6 separate regions of the Homo sapiens genome follow, and regions 1, 2, 3, 4 and 6 are each linked to region 5. Evidence: promoter capture Hi-C in human tissues and cell types (Jung and others, 2019). All regions are on one chromosome and are shown on one strand. Each heading gives the region's core, a stretch centred on a gene start or on the middle of the fragment in contact. The rest is flanking DNA. Distances are from core to core; before and after follow the strand shown. Region 1 overlaps MTREX (Mtr4 exosome RNA helicase). Region 2 overlaps PLPP1 (phospholipid phosphatase 1). Region 3 overlaps PLPP1 (phospholipid phosphatase 1). Region 4 overlaps ANKRD55 (ankyrin repeat domain 55). Region 5 holds the start of IL31RA (interleukin 31 receptor A). Region 6 has its middle 5.5 kb from the start of ANKRD55.

The links. The method cuts DNA at HindIII sites, captures the fragments that hold promoters and counts their contacts. A contact is called where the count stands out against the background at its distance.
Region 1: a fragment that was not itself captured here is called in contact with the fragment with the promoter of IL31RA in region 5 in 3 of the 25 tissues and cell types used here (IMR-90 fibroblasts, mesenchymal stem cells and pancreas).
Region 2: a fragment that was not itself captured here is called in contact with the fragment with the promoter of IL31RA in region 5 in 1 of the 25 tissues and cell types used here (mesenchymal stem cells).
Region 3: a contact is called between a fragment that was not itself captured here and the fragment with the promoter of IL31RA in region 5, in 1 of the 25 tissues and cell types used here (pancreas).
Region 4: a contact is called between a fragment that was not itself captured here and the fragment with the promoter of IL31RA in region 5, in 2 of the 25 tissues and cell types used here (adrenal gland and aorta).
Region 6: a fragment that was not itself captured here is called in contact with the fragment with the promoter of IL31RA in region 5 in 2 of the 25 tissues and cell types used here (adrenal gland and hippocampus).

What each region holds. Positions count from the first base shown.
Region 1 is chr5:55,406,664-55,409,833 of GRCh38, forward strand. The region is part of intron 22 of MTREX (Mtr4 exosome RNA helicase); the gene reads left to right. Among named protein-coding and RNA genes, the nearest start is that of MTREX, 100 kb to the left of the region's middle. The HindIII fragment of the contact is 6,080 bases long and covers 1-3,170 here.
Region 2 is chr5:55,456,159-55,459,668 of GRCh38, forward strand. The region is part of intron 3 of PLPP1 (phospholipid phosphatase 1); the gene reads right to left. Among named protein-coding and RNA genes, the nearest start is that of MIR5687, 51 kb to the right of the region's middle. The HindIII fragment of the contact is 4,795 bases long and covers 1-3,510 here.
Region 3 is chr5:55,522,140-55,525,333 of GRCh38, forward strand. The region is part of intron 1 of PLPP1 (phospholipid phosphatase 1); the gene reads right to left. Among named protein-coding and RNA genes, the nearest start is that of PLPP1, 11 kb to the right of the region's middle. The HindIII fragment of the contact is 6,739 bases long and covers 1-3,194 here.
Region 4 is chr5:56,130,631-56,134,202 of GRCh38, forward strand. All of the region lies in intron 7 of ANKRD55 (ankyrin repeat domain 55), which reads right to left. It overlaps LOC101928419 (a long non-coding RNA gene), which reads left to right. Exons shown (of 2, transcript XR_241794.2): 2 at 1-826. Among named protein-coding and RNA genes, the nearest start is that of ANKRD55, 100 kb to the right of the region's middle. The HindIII fragment of the contact is 3,461 bases long and covers 431-3,572 here.
Region 5 is chr5:55,849,243-55,852,834 of GRCh38, forward strand. It overlaps IL31RA (interleukin 31 receptor A), which reads left to right and starts at 2,115. Exons shown (of 15, transcript NM_139017.7): 1 at 2,115-2,391. The coding sequence starts at 2,329. The HindIII fragment of the contact is 16,782 bases long and covers 1-3,592 here.
Region 6 is chr5:56,237,223-56,240,444 of GRCh38, forward strand. No RefSeq gene overlaps it. Among named protein-coding and RNA genes, the nearest start is that of ANKRD55, 5.5 kb to the left of the region's middle. RefSeq lists an enhancer at 2,934-3,222. The HindIII fragment of the contact is 3,787 bases long and covers 1-3,222 here.

The DNA of each region.
Region 1 (3,170 bases), core at 334-2,833, 440 kb before region 5:
TGGATTGTTCTGTGTCTACACTGTTCAGTATAGTAGCCACTATTTAGCATTTGATGTGTGCTTAGACAAAGGAACTGAATTTTATAATTTATATCATTTTAATTGAAATTGAAATTTCCACGTATGCACATGGCAGTCTTTATAGATCAGTGCAATTCTAGAAGAATGTGGTATAGGAGATGCTGTTGTGGCCATCTTTAGAAAATACAATTTATGATACTGTTCTAAAAAATGTGTTCGTTATTTCCCACCACGAGGAATGTCTCCTGCCTTAGGAGCCAGCTTGCCTCTGTCCTCCTTAACTGGAAAGTCATAAACTGGTAGCTCAAGCAATATCCAGTCTGAAGATATATCTTGTTTTGTCCATATAGTGATGATCATAATTCTCAGTGAATATATAAAAGACACTTTTGAAACAGTTTTTTATGTACTCAGCATGGCCAGGATGGACAGGACTAGAGAATTACAGGCCTTGTAAATGATTTCAGACTTTCTTGGTAAAAATGTAATTATATCGTTCATCTGTCCAGATGTTACAGACTCAGATGTCTTCATAGAACCAGGAGACTGTGGTGAACAGGACAACTCTTAGCCACCAAAAGGGGGCAGTGACTACCCAGCCCTAGTTAGTTGTTATCACAGGATAATGTGCTATTGGATTTTAATTAATAACATATCCAGGATTAAATCTAAACTGCAGTACTGGTCTACTGATTTATATGCTAATGTTATTGGGATTATTTCCTTCTAATAATTACCTGTTTTACAATTAATATAGAAATTAATTTCCTTTAGATATCTACAACTAGATTTTGTGTTGAAAGAATGGAAATTGATTTTATTCCAAGATACATTTTTCATTTATAGTAATAACAATATTATATCAAAGTTTGTTAACTTTCCCCCAAATTTGCAAAAACTGGGGCATCATCCTAGACTCCTTCTCTCACCCATTTTGCCTTTTTAAACATTGCCACTGGCTAATGTGTATCCCTCATTATTTTTGGCCTCAATTACTGCAGTTGCCCTCCTGATTATTCGTTGCCTCCCTTCTTGAGTTTTCAAAACCCAAAGCACAAATCTGGTATGTCGTTCCTCTTTCCTTCTTGAGATGGGATTTTGCTCTGTTGCCCAGGCTGGGGTGCAGTGGTGCAATCTCGGCTCACCGCAGCCTCAACTTGCCAGGCTCAAGTGATCTTCCTGCCTCAGTCTCCCAAGAACCTGGGACTGTAAGTGTGTGCCATCAAGCCTGGCTAATTTCTTTTTTAAGTTTCTGTAGAGATAGGGTCTTGCTATGTTGCCCAGGCTGGTCTTGAACTCCTGTAATTAAGCAGTCCGCCCACCTTACCACCCAAATTGCTGGGATTACAGGTGTGAGCCACTTCACCCAGCACCCAGCCCCTTTGTGCCATTCTATTTGGTAAAAGTCCCTCAGTGATTCCTTATTGCTTTTAGAATAGATTCCATAATTTAGTATATTGTTACTCTCCCTCTCCAGCAGTCTGTTGCCACACCCCACACATGCTTTTCCTTTTGCTTCATATGACCTTTCACCCCCACCCCATATCCTGCGATTCTTGCATATTTTTGCAAAGAACTTCGAAACTTGCTCTGAACTTCTTCAATCTGGTTTTAGGCTCCTCACCTTTTTTTCCTCATAACACTTGTATAAATCAATTATTAGAGCACTCTGTTAAACCACTGTTCTGTGATTATCACCTTACTTGTCTGCCCCCAATGTTAGACTGTAGCTTCTTGAAATAGTCTTTCCTCGTTTGTATTGTTGCACTCTTTGCTTGACTTAACTCTTAAGCTTAACACTAGAGACCCAAATTTAGTTTTTGACTTTTATTTATAAATATTTTAACTGTTAGTAAAGATTATAATAGTTCATGGCTTTATTCTTTTTTAAAGACTTTGCAAAAAATAAAGGCAAAGTTTACTTTTTTAATAATACAGTACAGTTATTGTATGGGTCAATTGAACCCTGATTATAGAAGTCTAGAAACATCATCTTTGTAGTGTTTCTTTTTTAGCTTGAATTGAACACAGTTGCAAATTCAGAATTTTTCATTTTCCACCCAAGAAGAAAAATAAGTGAAGATATTTTGCAGTTATTACTCAAATCAGAAGATAAACACAAAGGGACAAAAAGCACTGTAGTCAAAGTGATAATGGTGAGATTGATTATATAAGCAAAGTCTCAGACCCTAAGTAAATTCTCAGACATAATAACTAGTGCATGAACAATATTTTTATTTATTTATTTATTTATTTATTTATTTATTTATTTATTTATTTATTTTGAGACAAGGTCTAGCTCTGTCACCCAGGCTGGAATGCAGTGGCAAGATCATGGCTCAGTGCAGTCTTGACCTCCTGGGCTTAAGTGATCCTCCCACCTCAGCCTCCTGAGTAGCTGGGACTACAGGCGTGTGCCACCACGCTCAGCTTATTTTTGTATTGCTTTGTAGAGACAGGGTTTTGCCATGTTGCTAGGCTAGTCTTGAACTCCTGGGCTCAAGAGATCTACCTGTTTCAGCTTCCCAAATGAGCCAGGAGCCACTGTGCTCTGCTGAACAATATATTTCTAGGGATATATATATATATGAGATTATTATTCATGTAATCATTCAACAGAAAGGGCCTAGTTATGTAACGTCTATGATAAGAACCTGGACCATCTCATTTTGCTAAAAGGACTTGTAATAATAGTCTTTCATCTTTTATTATTTGTGCACCAAAGTTTCCTTATATGGTCCACAAGTGGTCAAATACACAGTTGTGTATATAAGGAAATTGGAAAGAGATGATGAAGAAATTTTTTAAAACCTGTTGAATTGATCATTCTAATCTTTGTAATAATAAATATATTGTCCTTATAAGTCTGTATATGAAAATGTTTCACAATTATGGAGCAAAGAAGATGACCTTCCTCTCAACAAAATCAAGTTGTCAGTTTAAAAAACTGTATTTTGATGATGCAAAAGAGGAATCAAAAGTAATAAGCTAGAACTTAAAAGAGATGTAAATCTGGACTTGTACATTTTGACAGTGCAAGTGCAAGAAGAAACAGACGTAGTGATGAGCTAGTACCTACCTGTTAGAGATGTACTTGAAATCTAGAATTGTATTTCCTAGATGGATATTTTTCAGATTTGTGGATGACA
Region 2 (3,510 bases), core at 430-2,929, 390 kb before region 5:
ATTAAAATTAATAAGTATTCTATTAAAGTCCACTTATGCTCTTAGTTCTATGTTTAGGACCTAATGGTCACTACAACTGAAGTCCAGTAAAAGGTTTATAATAGCAGTAATAGCAGACAGAGCGCAAAAGTGTGCTACGTGCAAGAGAGAGAATGGCGGGGAGAAAAGAGAGTCAATGGGAAAAAATCAAGATCAAAAACCAAAATTGTAGGAGGATATTCTCATCCTTACATGTAACTCTGACTCATTTATACAGTCAACAAAAATGACTCATTATGGGTGCTTATGTTCCTTTCTCCCCAATGTCAAGCATCATAATTTTATAATTAAAAGCTTATATGGTGGCAGGCTGTAGAGATACATAAGTTAAAAGAGCAGATTACACTATAATCCTAAAAAACTATAGACAATATTTAGACTGGATTTTTTGCATTTTTAGCTTTCTGACTTTCAAAATTCAAGAGAAAAATAATAGGAAAGTATGTATCCAGCCAAACTACACTCCACAATAGAACAGCAATGCATACCCACAGTTATGTACCACTATTATACAGCTCTGAAATTGGCAACAACTGACTCATTCTGGAAAGACAGATGGAAATTACATTTTTCTAGGAAGATACAAAGTCTTTCTAAAACTTTTTCTATATTTGATTTTCCTTGCTCCTTGCTTCAGAACCCCAAAGCTTACTAAGGGAGCTTATCTTAAAAGCTATAAACAGGCCTGGTGCAGTGGCTCACGCCTATAATCCCAGCACTTTGGGAGGCTAAGGTGGGCAGATCATGAGGTCAGGAGTTTGAGACCAGCCTGGCCAACATGGTGAAACCCCGTCTCTACTACAAATACAAAAATTACCCGGGGAGGGTGGTGCAGGCCTGTAATCCTAGCTACTCTGCAGGCTGAGGCAGGAGAACCGCTTGAGCTTGGGAGGCAGAGGTTGCAGTGAGCAGAGATCACACCACTGCACTCCAGGCTGGGCGACAGAGTGAGACTCCGTCTCAGACCAAAAAAAAAAAAAAAGCTATAAATAATAATTACTTTCAACATATATAGCTCTTCAATTTCAGTTATCCAAAATTAATTCTGCTTTTAAAGAGGGTGCTTTCCCAACCCTTACACAGGACTGTAAGCGGACACTTGCATATGGATGGCTGTAGAAATTTTAAATAGGTAAAAAGCCTAAGTATACTTAGGTTAAAAGTGCAATCAAAGTAACAGTATATGGCAGCCAATTTATATACACCAGGAAGAGACAGTGAATGAGTATGACATGTATATATCACAAAATAATTATTTTTATACCATTTTAAATAAATATATTTCACATTTTGTCAAAATGGCTTGTGCAAGAAACAAAAATATCATCAATAAGAAATATCACAAGAAAATTCTCAGCTAAAACAAAATAAGATTTATGTACCTGAACCAGAGAAATAATATATGTATGAATAATTTGCAAGGGGGCTCACGCCTGTAATCCCAGCACTCTGGGAGGCCAAGGTGGGCAGATCACAAGGTCAGCAGTTCGAGACCAGCCTGGCCAATATGGTGAAACCCCATCTCTACTAAAAATACACAAATTAGCTGGACGTGGTGGCGGGCGCCTGTAGTCCCAGCTACTCAGGAGGCTGAGGCAGGAGAATCGCTTGAACCCGGGAGGCAGAGGTTGCAGTGAGCCAAGATCACGCCACTGCACTCCAGCCTGGGTGACACAGCGAGACTCTGTCTCAAAAAAAAAAAAAAATCATTTACAATGACATTTTCTAGACTTTAGGTACACTCATCACCACAATGACTTTCTTAAATTTGCTGGCTGAGAGAAAAGATTAGAGTTTTCCTGCCTAACTTATTAACATGTTGGTTGATCCAAGAGAGATATTAGAGACATAGGCATGGCATTTGGTGGAAAAGTACAAAACAGAGAATCAACACCCTGATACTGAAGTCCCACTTCCATTTTATTAAGTTTCTAGAATCAAAAACAAGATGCTAATCCTTACTGTGCTTCAAGTTCTTTATTCATAAAAGTGGGACAATATTATTGTCCATGCCTATGTTACAAGAATGCCAAAAGGATGAAAATGAGTAACAAATGGTCAGCATGCAAAAGCTTGGATATTTATGCCAGAAAATAAGAAGATAGTTAACTCCCAGGTTAATCTATGATCACTGAAAATAAACACCTTTCTTCATTTGGTTATAAGTAAATAATAAACTAATACATATATGCTTTTTTTTCCTGTAGCTTAGTCATGTATTAACCTTAAAAAAAAAAATTAAATATATGAAGATGTATATTGTAACCCCTAGAGAAACAACCAAAAAAACAGATAACATGTCAGTAGGATACTTAAATTGCTACACTAAAAAAAAATTGTTTCATACAAAGGAAAGCAGTATAGGAAGAACAGTAACAAAGAGACGAAACATAGAAAATACATAGCAAGGCTGGGCGTGGTGGCTCACGCCTGTAGTCCCAGCATTTAGGGAGGCCAAGGTGGGTGGATCACCTGAAGTCAGGAGTTCGGGACCACACTGTCCAACATGGTGAAACCCCATCTCTACTAAAAATGCAAAAATTAATTGGGCGTGGTGGCGCATGCCTGTAATCCCAGCTACTCGGGAGGCTGAAGTGGGAGAATTGCTTGAACTCAGGAGGCAGAGGCTGCAGTGGGCCAAGATTATGCCACTGCACTCCAGTCTGGGCAACAGAGGAGACCCTGTCTCCAAAAAAAAAAAAAAAAAAAAAAAAAAAAACACATAGCAAAATGGCAGAAAAATCCAGCCATATTGGTAATTACATTAAATTTGTGATCAAAGGGCAAAGATTTTTCAGTCTGGATTAAAAAGAATAAGCAAGATATGACTATATATTGTCTCTAAAAGATACACTTTAAATTCAGAGATTCGAATAAGCTAAAAGTTTTACTTATAGAAAAATATATAACCCAAACAATAAGCATAAGAGAATTAGAGTGACTATATATTAATATCAGGCAAAATAGACTTTAAAACAAAGAATATTTCTAAACACAAAGAAATACATTGATACCAAAAAGGAGCAATACAGCAGAAAAAAAAAACGACACTTGTAAGTGCTACATATTGAACAGCACGGCCACAAGATAAAAAAACAAAGTTTACGCAAATGAAAGGACAAAAAGACAATTCAACAATTATAGTTAGAGATTTCAAGCTCCCCAAAAAATAACTCATAAAACATGTTGGTTAAAAAAAAATCAGTAAAGATATATAAGATTTGAGTAACACTATCAACCAACTTGACCAAACTGATTTCTATAGAACATTTCACCCAGAAAACACATGCTCTTCAAGTGCACATGGAACATTCTCCAGAATAGACTGTATGTGAAAAATGTGGGGGCCCAGGGGGATGGGAATCAACTAATTTGAAAGAATTCTAATCATATAAAGTATGTTCTCTAAACACAATGAAATTAAATTAGAAATCGATGACAGAAAGATAAATGCAAAATCCCCTACATAAT
Region 3 (3,194 bases), core at 219-2,718, 330 kb before region 5:
TATCTGCTAGAATGCATTACCAAAGGTCACTCTGAACTCCATACACGATTCATCTAAAACACAGGGAGAGACAAAGATCTTCCTTTCCTGTGAAAACCTGAAAGGAATGCCTATAACAACGCTATTTGAAGAAAAAGTCTGTGAGCATGTTACTGAATAGGGGAAATTAGTTACATCCTCCAGTATGATATAACCTCATTGCTAATGCTTAATAGTTATTGGGAGTCTGAGATATGAAATATTAAAGTGCCTCTTCTTTTTGTTTGTTTTTATAGATACAGAGTCTCGCTCTGTTGCCCAGGCTGGAAGTGCAGTGGCACAATCACAGCTCACTGCAACCTGCAACTTCTGACCTCAAGCAATCCTCCTGCCTCAGCCTCCCAATGTGCTGGGATTACAGGTATAAGCCACTGCTCCCAACTTTAAAGTGCCTCTTTTAGACAGCAGATATACTCAAAATGGTAAGCAGAAACTGACTCTGAAACTACATCATAACTAGTTAAACATAAAACTAAAATAGTTACAAAATATTTAAGCCATCTAAAATAATCATTTTGTTTTGTTTTGTTTTGTTTTGTTTTGTTTTGTTTTGTTTTGTTTTTGAGACGGAGCCTCACTCTGTCATCCAGTTTGGAGTGGCGCAATCTCGGCTCACTGCAAGCTCCACCTCCTGGGTTCACGCCATTCTCCTGCCTCAGCCTCCTGAGTAGCTGGGACTACAGGCGCCCGCCACCACGCCCAGCTAATTTTTTGTATTTTTAGTACAGACGGGGTTTCAGCGTGTTAACCAGGATGGTCTTGATCTCCTGACCTCGTGATCCACCCACGTTGGCCTCCCAAAGTGCTGGGATTATAGGCATGACCCACCACGCCAGGCCCAATAATGATTGTTTTTATAGACAATGAATTCCCACATTCTTGCCTTTCTCACCCTCTCCATATTTTTTTTACTTTTAATTTTTGTGGGTACATAGTAAATATACATACATATGGGGCACATGGGATATCTTGATAGAGGTATATAATTTATAATCATTACATCAGGGTAAATGGGGTATCTGTCACCTCAACCATTTATTCTTTGTGTTACGAACAATCCAATTATACTGTTTTCGTTATTTTTAAATGTACAATTAAATTATTATTGACTATAATCACTGCTGTACTATCAAATACTAGATCTTATTCATTCTACCTATTTTTTGTACTCATCAACCATCCCCACTTCACCCTCTCCATTTATTACAACCTTTCCCAAATACACACTAGTTAATCTGCATTCAAAAGTTATAATCCTCAAAAATGCACTTCCCAATTCCTGACTATACCATTGTTAGCCAGGTTGCCTTGGGTGAGTTTCCCAACTTTCCCAGCCCTCACTTCCGTCATCTACAGAATGCAGATGACCAAGCTCCTAAGAGAGTTGTCGAGAGACTGCACTGGCTGTACCAAGCCTAGAGAGCACTAAATAAATGTCAATTATTATTTTTATCCATTCTGGCATTTAGAAATAAAAGTTACAAAATTCACTATTAAAAATACCATTGATACATACCATATTCCAGCCACACTGGCCTCTTTTCTGTGACAAAATGCCCTTTTCTTCTTTTGCCCTCAACACCTGCTCCTCCCTATGCTTGGAATTTTCCCCCAGCTCCTCCACGGCCAACTCATTTTGTTCCTTAAATCTCAAGTCCAATACCTCTCAATTCAAATATTCCCCCTTTAGAGAGCCTTCATTGAGACTGCTATCCCCAAAAGTCTAACTTTCTTATAATCTTGCTTTAATTCTGTCATAGCTTTTACAAACATCTGTAATTGTCTTATATACACTGGTATGGAGAGCTGATCTTTTTTGCACTGGTATTTGCAGCTCCTAGCATTGTATTACAGCAAATAATGTCTGCTTAATAAATAAATAAAAAATGATGCAATGTCAAATACTTTAAAACAACATTGTGCTCACACAATTTTAAAAACAATTTGAGTTTAACATATGTCACAATGTTTGAAAAAGAGTTTAGATGCAGCAGTGTCCAATCTTTTGGCTTCCCTGGAGTACACTAGAAGAATTGTCTTGGGGCACACATAAAACACACTAACACTAACAATAGCCAATGAGCTTAAAAAAAAATTGCAAAAAAATCTTATAATGTTTTAAGAAAGTTTACAAATTTGTGTTGGACCATATTCAAAGCCATCCTGGGTTGCATGCAGCCTGTGGGCCATGGGTCGGACAAGCTTGGTTTAGGGAGAGGGAGGATATAGAGAAGTATTACACAACGGTTTTTCCTTGCTGCCTGTTTAATCGCCAAGAGCAATTCAAATAACAGAATTTATACAAATGAGGATGTATAATTAAGGTCATTCAAAAGTTTTGGGAATATTGGGCCAGGTGCAGTGGCTCACACCTGTAATCCCAGCACTTTGGGAGCCAAGACGGGTGGATCACCTGAGGTCAGGAGTTTCAGACTAGCCTGGCCAACATGGTGAAACCCCATCTCTACTAAAAATACAAAAATTAGCCCGACGTGGTGGTGGGCACCTGTAATCCCAGCTACTCAGGAGGTTGAGGCAGGAGAATCGCTTGTACCTAGAAGGCAGAGGTTGCAGTGAGCCAAGATCATGCCGTTGCATTCCAGCCTGGGCGACAAGAGTGAAACTACGTCCCCCCCCAAAAAAAAGTTTTAGGAATATTAACTCTACTTTTTTATAAGTGGAGTAATCATTCCCAAGACCTCAGCAATAAAAAGGTGACTAGAGTGTAGCTAACTCCACTTTCTGGAGTAAGCTGAAATTCAGGACTTATCACTGTATAAAATAACAGTTTTTCCATTCGTTTAATTACTCTCCACCACAGACCTACACAGATCAATTTTCACCATGGCTGGAATTACCACTACTTAGAAATCATGTATGTGGCTTTCACACATGACTAATAAAACACTAAGTTTCAAAAGCATTCCATGAGTACTCATGAGAAACATTTTAAAGTTTGTGTTTTTGTCCCTAATACAAAACTAGTTGATGTTATTTCTACTAATATAATTATTATGTTACAGGTAGTAGGATTAGAGAATTATTTTACTTGACAAACATACATCATGCATATTAAGTGCAAGGCACTTTACATATTGATTCACTTAAGTCTCATTTAAGATAACCATAGGTACTTTCATTATATAGCTAAAGAA
Region 4 (3,572 bases), core at 911-3,410, 280 kb after region 5:
CTACAGAGCAAGCATCAGTTCCAGACATGGCAGGGATATGGGAATTATCAGATAAATAATTTAAAGCAACTATGATTAATGTGCTAAGGGCTGTAAATGGATAAAGTGGACAACATGTCAGAACAGATGGGCGATGTAAGCAGGAAGATGGAGATCCTAAGAGAGAACAAATAATAAATGCTGGAGATAAAAAACACTGTAATGGAAATGAAGAATGCCTTTGATGAGCTTATCAGTAGATTGGACACAGCTGAGGGAAGAGTCTCTGCGCTTGAGAAGATCTCAATGTAAACCTCCAAAACTGGAAAACAAAAAGAACAAAGACTGAAAAAAACAGAACAGAATATTCACAGACTGTGAGAGAACTACAAAAGGTGTAACATACAGGCAATAGGAATACCAGAAGGAGAAGAGAAAAAGGAACAGGATAAATATTTGAAACAATAATAACAACTGAGAATTTTACCAAAAAAATTGTTAGACACAAAAGCTCAGAGAACACCAAGCACGATAAATGCCAAAAACAACAAAAAAAAACAACAAAACAAACAAAAAACCCTATGCCTAGGCATATTATTTTCCAATTACAGAAAACCAAAGATAAAGAAAAAGTCCAGAAGGAAGCCAGAGGAAAAGAACACCTTACCTATAGAGGAGCAAAGAGAAGGATTACCTCTGATTTCTCAGAAACCATACAAGCAAGAAGAGACTGGAGTGAAATACTTAAAGAGTTGAGAAAAGCCTCCCATCAACAAGAATTCTGTACCTTATGAAACTGTCCTTCAAAAGTGAAGGAGCAATAAATACTTTCTTAGATAAACAAAAATTGAGGGAATTTGTTACTGGTAGACCTGCATTGTACTAGATGTTAAAAGTAGTTTCTTGACGGGTGCGGTGGCTCATGCCTGTAATCCCAGCATTTTGGGAGGCTGAGGCAGGTGGATCACCTGAGATCAGGAGTTCGAGACCAGCCTGATCAATATGGAGAAACCCCGTCTCTGCTAAAAATACAAAAATTAGCCGGGTGTGGTGGTGCGTGCCTGTGATCCCAGCTACTCGGAAGGCTGAGACAGGAGAATCGCTTGAACCCGGGAGGCAGAGGTTGCAGTGAGCCGAGATCGCGCCATTGCACTCCAGCCTGGGCAACAGAGCAAGACTCCGTCTCAAAAAAAAAAAAAAAAAAAAAAAAAAAAGTAGTTTCTTAGAAGAGAAGAAAAATGATATAGGCCAGAAACTCTGATTTACGTAAAGAAAAGAAGAACGCTGAAGAAGGAATAAGTGAAGGTAAAATAAAAACTTTTATTTTTTATTGTTAATTAACCTAGGAGATAATAGTTTGTTCAAATTACTAACAGCTACAATGTATGCTAATGCATCTATCTTTATATCTATATACATATATATAAGCTTATGTATGCTTATATATAAGTAAAATGAATGACAGCAATCATACTAGGGACAGGTGGAAGGAATTAGAATCATTTAGTTATTATAAAGTATTCGCACTACCCATGAAGTGGTATAGTGTTATTTTGAAGTGGATTTCGATTAGTTGTAAACATACTTGGTATACTCTAGGGCAATCACTAAAAAAGTAAAAAAGGAAGTATAACTAATATGCTAAGAAAAGAGAGAAAATAGAATAATACAAAATGCTAATTAAAACCACAAAAGGTGGAAGAAGAGTAGAAGACAAAAATAGGAACAAAGAATAAGGGCATGGGCGGATCACAAGGTCAGGAGATCGAGACCATCCTGGCTAACACGGTGAAACCCTGTCTCTACTTAAAATACAAAAAAAAAAAAAAAAATTAGCTGGGTGTGGTGGCGGGCGCCTGTAGTCCCAACTACTCAGGAGGCTGAGGCAGGAGAATGGCGTGAACCTGAGAGGCGGAGCTTGCAGTGAGCAGAGATCGCGCCACTGCACTCCTGCCTGGGTGACAGAATGAGACTCTATCTAAAAAAAAAAAAAAAAAAAGAATAAGGGCAGCAAATAGAAAACAGTAACAAATATGATCGATGTTACTCTAACTATATGAATAATCACTCTGAACATCAATGGTCTAAATGTACCAATCAAAAGACAGAGATTGTCAGGGTGGATAGAAAAATAAGACCCAACTATATGTTGTCTATAAGAAACCCACTTTAAATATAATGACACATATAGATTAAAAGTGAATGAGTGGTGAAAGATTTACCATGAAAACACTAACCAAAAGAAAGCAGGAGTAGCTATATATTATAATTCTAGACAGTGCAGACTACAAAACAAAGAAAGTTGTTAGGGATAAAGAAGGGTATTACATAATGATAAAGAGGTCAGTTCTCCAAGAAGACATAACGATCCTTATGTACCGAACAACACAGCCTCAAAATATGCGAGGCAAAACCTGATAAAGCTGCAAGAAGAAACAGATGAGTCCGCTTTATAGTTGAAGACTTCAACATCCCTCTATCAGAAATGGACAGATCCAGAAAGCAGAAAATCAGTAGGAATATAGTTGAACTTAAAAATACAATTAATTGGCCGGGCACGATGGCTCATGCCTGTAATCCCAGCACTTTGGGAGGCTGAGGTGGGCAGATCACAAGGTCGGGAGTTCGAGACCAGCCTAGCCAACATGGTGAAACCCCATCTCTACTAAAAATACAAAAACTAGCTGGGCATGGTGGTGCATGCCTGTAATCCCAGCTACTGGGGAGACTGAGGTAGGAGAATGGCTTGAACCTAGGAGGCGGAGGTTGTAGTGAGCCGAGATTGTGCCACTGCACTCCAGCCTGGGTGACAGAGGAAGACTCCGTCTCAAAAAAAAAAAAAAACAATTAATTAATTGGATACAATTGATGTCTACTGACTACTTCATCTAACAGCAAAATACACATTTTTAACAAGCTCACATGGGACCTTCACCGAGATAGACTACAGTCTGGGCCATAAAACAAACCTTAACAAAAGTGAAAGAATAGAAATCATACAATGCAGGCTTTCAGACCATGGTAGCATTAAACTACAAATCAACAACAGACAACTGGAAAATTTCTGAACATGTGGAGATTAAACAATATAAGTAACACATGGTTCAAAAGAAGAAATTGCAAGATAAATTAAAAAAATACTTTGAACAAAAGGAAGATAACATCAAAATTTGTGGGATGTAGCAAAAACAATTTCTCAGAAGAAAATTTACAGCTTTGAATGTATATATTAAAAAAGAAGAAAGATCTAGAATCAATTATATAAGCTTACATCTTAGGAAGCTAGAAAAAGAAGAGCAAATTAAATCCAAAATAAGCAGAAGAAAAGAAAAAATAAAAATTAGAGAAGAAATCAATGAAGTAGAAAACAGAAAATCAATAGAGAAAATCAATGAAACCAAAAGCTGGTTCTTAGAAAAGATTAATAAAAGTGATAAGCCTCTAGCCAGGCTAGAAAAAAACAGAGGGAAACAAATTACTTAATATCAGAAATGAAAAAAGGTACTTCACTACAGATCCCATGGACATTAAAAGAATGATGAAGAAATACTTTAAACAACTCTATTTTCACAACTTGATAACATATTTGAAAT
Region 5 (3,592 bases), core at 865-3,364:
ATATCTATAAAGAACATGTTTATACTGCAATTTAATTTTTTTTTCAATTTTAGACATTATCTATTGACTTCTTACTAACTATGGAAGATAAAGACTGAAGTCTCTTACCAATTCTATACACAAACACACACATATGTGCATCCTTTCCTAACCCCATTCTTTCAATATAGTTATAACTTTTGTTAAATCCATTAATGTTTTCATTGTTGTGACTCTATAGTTATTCATAGCTGAGCCACATATTGGACTTTAAATATATTTTCTTATATAACATTTTCTTTTTCCTGGAATTAATAATTATGCCATTTTTTGGTTTCCTTAACTTACTGAGCCGATTACTCATCCTTCTCCAAACTTTCTAAGAGTGCTGCAAAACTTTTCAAGTTTCAACATCTGTCAGATCCATTGGGTCCCCTCCATGTATTTTTTCATTGGAAATATCCCTCCTTGAGCCTGGCGTCTGCCACTCACTTGGGCTAGTTGCTCTCCAAGCCTGTTGTACTCTTATCATCTTGGGATCTCCCTTGGCCACCATTCTTGGAATTCTCTCTCTTCTATTTGAAATTTGCTGTTTTTGGGAGCCCATTTTTCCTTTTTGTTTTGGCTTATGCTCTTGTTTTTGTAGTCACTTTTTTCAATAACATCTCGAAAATGGTCACATGGGAGATAAAGTTCTTGAAACTTGGCATGTTGGAAAATGCAGTTTCAAGAACGTTGTTTTACCTTTCTTTCTGATGGATCATTTGGATGGGTAGAGCATCCTAGGTGAGAAATAATTTTCCAATAGAGTTATAAAGGAATTGATCCATTGCTTTCTAACTTCTGGTTTTGTTATTAAGTCTAAAGCCATTCTCATCCTTGATCCTTTGTATGTGACTTATTTTTTTCCTATCTGGAAACATTTTTTTTCTGTTTATTCTTGATATTCTGAAACTTCACTGTTTTGTACTTCAGTGTAGATTTATTTTCATTTATTATGCTGTTTACAGTGGGCCCTTTCAATCTGGAAACAAATGTTCCTCAATTCTTGGGAATTTTATTGTATCACTTCTCTCATTATTTCTTTCCCTCCATTCCTCTGTTCTGTGCTTCTGTACTGCTGGTAGTCAGATGTTGGCTATTCTTCATCTCTTTGTCTTTTCTTCTATCTTCTGGAAGATTTCCTCAACTTTATTTTCTAGTCTTTAGACTTCAGCTCTCATATTTTGAATCTCCAAGAGTTCTTGTTCTCTAATTATGCCTTTATCATAGCATCCTATTCATATTTTGTGGGTACAACATTTTTTCTTATTTTCTATGAAGGTTTAACTAATATTTCTTTTAAAAAATATTCTGCTTTCTGCATTGCCTTTCTTTCAAGTTTTTTCCCCCCATCTGCTGTTGGGATGGGAGAAATTTAATGAATTTGGCTTTGTGGGGTTAGGATTAGGTAGTCTATTTCTTTTTCAGATTTTCAACCAATCTTATGATTTTTGTTTCAGAGGTATAGTCAATTCTCATTATTCCTTCATTATTCCTGGCAATTATGTTCAATAAAATCGCCACAAACACTGAATTAGAAAATACTGCTGAGCGTGGTGGCTCATGCCTGTAATCCCAGCACTTTGGGAGGCCGAGGCAGGTGGATCACCTGAGGTCAGGAGTTTGAGACCAGCCTGAACAACATGGAGAAACCCCGTCTCTACTAAAAATACAAAATCAGCTGGGCTTGGTGGCGCATGCCTGTAATCCCAGCTACATGGGAGGCTGGCCTGAGGCAGGAGAATCACTTCAACCCGGGAGGTGGAGGTTGCGGTGAGCTGAGATGGCGCAATTGCACTCCAGCCTAAGCAACAAGAGCGAAACTCTGTCTCAGAAGAAAAAAAAAAAGAAAAAAAGAAAATACTGAATTATTCTCTGTGGGGGAAATATAGAGTTAGGTGCCTGTGAGCCTCTGGTCACAACATTTTTGTCAGCTAATCAATACATAACCTTGTTTTGTGTGTGTTTCTGTTTAAAGACACCTTATTTAATATACATTGTTGATTCATCAACATTGAACTCATGGCTAATAACAGTACTATGACTCATGCCTGAATAGAGCTTATTTAACACACATATTTTCTCCATGAGGCACAGCCTCCTTCTGCTTAGGAACACCAGACAGCACTCCAGCACTCTGCTTGGGGGGCATTCGAAACAGCAAAATCACTCATAAAAGGCAAAAAATTGCAAAAAAAAATAGTAATAACCAGCATGGCACTAAATAGACCATGAAAAGACATGTGTGTGCAGTATGAAAATTGAGACAGGAAGGCAGAGTGTCAGCTTGTTCCACCTCAGCTGGGAATGTGCATCAGGCAACTCAAGTTTTTCACCACGGCATGTGTCTGTGAATGTCCGCAAAACATTGTGAGTATTGATTTGGGGGGTTACAAATAATTCCTAGCAAGTAGGTGAATTCACAAATAAGGAAGCTGTGAGTAATGAGGGTTGATTTTACCTACCTAGTGTCTCAAATCCTGAGCCGTATGAGATTCCGTGGCATAATTATGTTTGCTTATTGTTGGCAACCTTATTAGGCATTTCTAGGTTTCTGCTTTCTCATCTTTACCAGTTCAGTTATGGCTTGATTCATTTCTCTTTTTCCAAAGATTTGTTGACATCTCTTATTTGCTGTTGCCTCTTCCCATTTGTTTTGTCTTGTGGTTCTATATCTTTGCCATAATTTTTGTGGAGTTTCCTGAGAGAGTAGAGATAAATGTATATGCTCAATTGGTCTTGTCTTAACCAGAATTCTATTTAATACACAACACCTTTAGTGAGCTGTTATGCATGTAATAGGTGTTTACTAAGTATTGGTTGAATAAATTCAAGAAATGCTTGCTATTTTTGTGCTAGCATTTAGCTTTTCTCTATAGTATATTATAATGGAATTTTATTTTATTTTATTTTATTTATTTTTTGAGACAGAGTTTCACTCTTGTCGCCAGGTTGGAGTACAATGGCACGATCTTGGCTCACTGCAACCTCTGCCTCCCGGGTTCAAGCGATTCTCCTGCCTCAGCCTCCCGAGTAGCTGGGATTACAGGTGCCTGCCACCATGCCTGACTAATTTTTTTGTATTTTTAGTAGAGATGGGGTTTTGCCATGTTGGTCAGGCTGGTCTCAAACTCCTGACATCAGGTGATCCACCTGCCTCAGCCTCCCAAAGTGCTGGGATTACAGGCGTGAGCCACCACGCCTGGCTGGAATTTTAAATATCTCATAATTATAATCTTCTAGGTAAAAGACTAGCTCTCTTTCTCACCCTTATTCCTCCTACTTAGTGGAACATTGCCTAAGGAAGATGGGGAATGGGTTAAAAATTAAAATGTGGGGCTGGAAAGCATAGCTTGTTTTAAAACTTAGTTTTCTTTCCTTTTGCATCATAATCTCTTCCCCGGTCTATTTATTTCTCGTGGTTTTGTCAGTCCATTACAAACGGTTGCAAAATTGTGGTACTAGAAGGGATCCTAGAAATAATCTAATTTGAACCTTTGATTGCTAGGAAACTGAGAGTCAGGCTGCCTTGGTTCAAGTCTTGGCTCCACCACCCATGTAGGACATGTTG
Region 6 (3,222 bases), core at 496-2,995, 390 kb after region 5:
CTGTTTACAAACCTAAAACCCCTTAAATGAAGGGGAGGCTGGAGCCCTTGAGGAAAGGCCCTGGTACCCTACTAAATGTTTATACTGTTAATCTTTCTCTCAGTTTTCCCCAAAAGAGATGTATGGCCTTTTTACTAGGGTAACTGTGCATTGAGAAAAGAGAAATAATCAGACCTCTCAGGGCTTACTGGACATTGGCTCTGAGCTGACACTAATTTCAGGAGACTCAAAATATCACTGTGGCCTGCCAGTCAGAGGAGGGACTTTTGAAGGTCATGCGGTCAATGGGATTTCAGCTCAGATCCATCTCACAGTGGGTCTAATGGGCCCCAATGCCATCCTGTGGTCATTTCCCCAGTTCTGGATGCACAATTAGAATAGACATACTTAGCAGCTCACAGAATCTCTACATTGGTTCCCTGAATCGTGGAGTAAGGGCTATTATGGTGGGAAAGGCCAAGTGGAAGCCACTAGAACTGTGTCTACCTAGGAAAATACTAAACCAAAAGCAATACGACATTTCTGGGGGAACTGTAGAGGTCATAAAGGACCTGAAGGATGCAGGGGTGGTGATTCCCACCACATCTCCATTCAACTCTCCAATATGCTTTCCAATTTGGCAGAAGACAGGTGGATCTTCGAGAATAACAGTGGATTATAGTAAGCTTAACCAGGTGGCAACTCCAATTGCAGCTGTTGTTCAGATATGGTTTTATTCCTTGAGCAAATTAAAACACTCTCTGGTACATAGTATGCAGTTACTGCTCTGGCAAATGCTTTTTCCTCTCAATACCTATTAGTAAAGACCACCAGAAACAGTTTATTTCAGGTGACAAGACAACATTCTTGATGAACATAAATCCAAAAATCCTCAACAAAATACTAGCAAACTGAATCTAGTAGCACATTAAAAAGTTAATCCACCATAATCAAGTGGGTTTTATCCCTAGCATGCAAGGTTGATTCAACATATGCCAATCAATAAATATGATTCATCACATACACAGACCTAAAAACAAAAGCCGCATGATCATCTTACTAGATCAGAAAAGAATTTCAATAATATTCAACATCCCTTCATGTTTAAAACCCTAAACAAACTAGGCATTGAAGGAATATATCTCAAAATAATAAGAGCCATCTATGACAAACTCACAGCCAAAAACATACTGAATGGGCAACCCAGTATAGGCAGGACTGTACTGAATTCTGGAAGCATTCCCTCTGAGAATTGGAACAAGACAAAGATTCCTACTCTCACCACTCCTATTCAACATAGTACTGGAAGTCCTAGACTGAGCAATCAGGCAAGAGAAAGAAATAAAAGGCATCCAAACAGGAAAAGAGGAAGTCAAACTATCTATGTTTGCAGATGATATGATTTTATACCTAGAAAACCTCATATTCTCTCTGCCCCAAAGCTCCTACATCTGGTAAACAACTTCAGCAAAGTTTCAGGATACAAGATCAATGTACAAAAATTAGTAGCATTTCTATATACCAACAACATCCAAGCTGAGTGCCAAAACAAGAACGCAATCCCATTCACAACAGCCATACACATACACACACACATACATATACACACACACAGACACACACATACGCAATACCTAGGAATACAGCTAACCAGGGAGGTGAAAGAGCTCTATAATGAGAATTATCTTTCAAACAGATTCTTTTATTATTCTTTTCTGAAAGAAATCAGAGATGATACAAACAAATGAAAAAACATTCCATGCTTGTGGATAAGAAGGAATCAATATTGTTAAAATGGCCATACTGCCCAAACCAATTTACAGATTGAATGGTATGCCTATCAACTTATCAATGACATTTTTCACAGAATTAGAGAAAAATTAGAAAAATTTTTAGAATTAGAAAAAAACGATTCTAAAATTTATATGAAACCAAAAGAGCCTGAATAGCCAAAGCAATCCTAAGCAAAAACAACAAAGCTGAAGGCGTCACATTACCCAACTTCAAACTATACTACAAGGTTACAGTAACCAAAACAGCATGGTACTGGTACCAAAACAGACACATAGACCAATGGAACAGAATAGAGAGCCCACAAATAATGCTGCACACCTACAACCATCTGATCTTCAACAAAGTTGACAAAAACAAGGAATGGAGAAAGGACTCCCTGTTCAATAAATGGTGGTGGGATAACTGGCTAGCAATGTGCAGAAGATTGGAACTGGACCCCTTCCTTACACCATGTACAAAAATCAACTCAAGATGGATTAAAGACTTAAAAGTAAAACTTAAAACTATAAAAAATCCTGGAAGATAACCTAGGAAATAACATTCTGGACATAGGCCCTGACAAATATGCCTATGCCTATGTTGTCTTTCATGACAAAGACACCAAAGCAATTGACAAATGGTACCTAATTAAATGAAAGAGCTCCTGCATAGCAAAAGAAACTATCAACAGAGTAAACAGACGACCTACAGAATGGGAGAAAATGTTTGCAAATTATGCATCTGACAAAGGTCTAATATCCAGAATCTAAAAGCAACTTAAACAAATTTATAAACAAGAAAAAATCCCATTAAAAAATGGGCAAAGGACATGAACAGACACATTTTTTTTTTTTCCAAGACAAGGTCTCACTTTGTCACCCAGGCTAGAGCACAATGGTGCAATCTAAACTTACTATAGCCTCCACCTCCCAGGTTCAAGCAATCCTTCTGCCTCAGCCCCAAAAGTAGCTGGGACTCCGGGTGCATGCCATCATGTCTGGCTAACTTTTTTGTACTGTTTTGTAGAGATGAGGTTTCACCATATTGGCCAGGCCGGTCTTGAACTTCTGAGCTCAAGCAATCTGCCCACCTCAGCCTCCCAAAGTGCTAGGATTACAGGAGTGAGACACTGTGCTCGGACATGAATAGACACTTTTAAAGAGACATACCCGTAACCAATAAGCATATGAAAAAATGCTCAACATCACTAATCGTTAGAGAAATGCAAATCAAAAACCACAATTAGACCCATCTCCCATCAGTCAGAGTGGCTATTACTAAAAAGTCAAAAAGTAACAGATGCTGGAGAGGTTGTGGAGAAAAGAGAACACTTATATACTATTGGTGGGAATGTAAATTAATGCAGCCACTGTGGAAAGTAGTTTGGAGATTTCTCAAATAAATTAAAACAGAACTACTATTTGATGCATCCATCAAGTGGAAAGTTTCCTTAATTTCAATTTTTCAGTC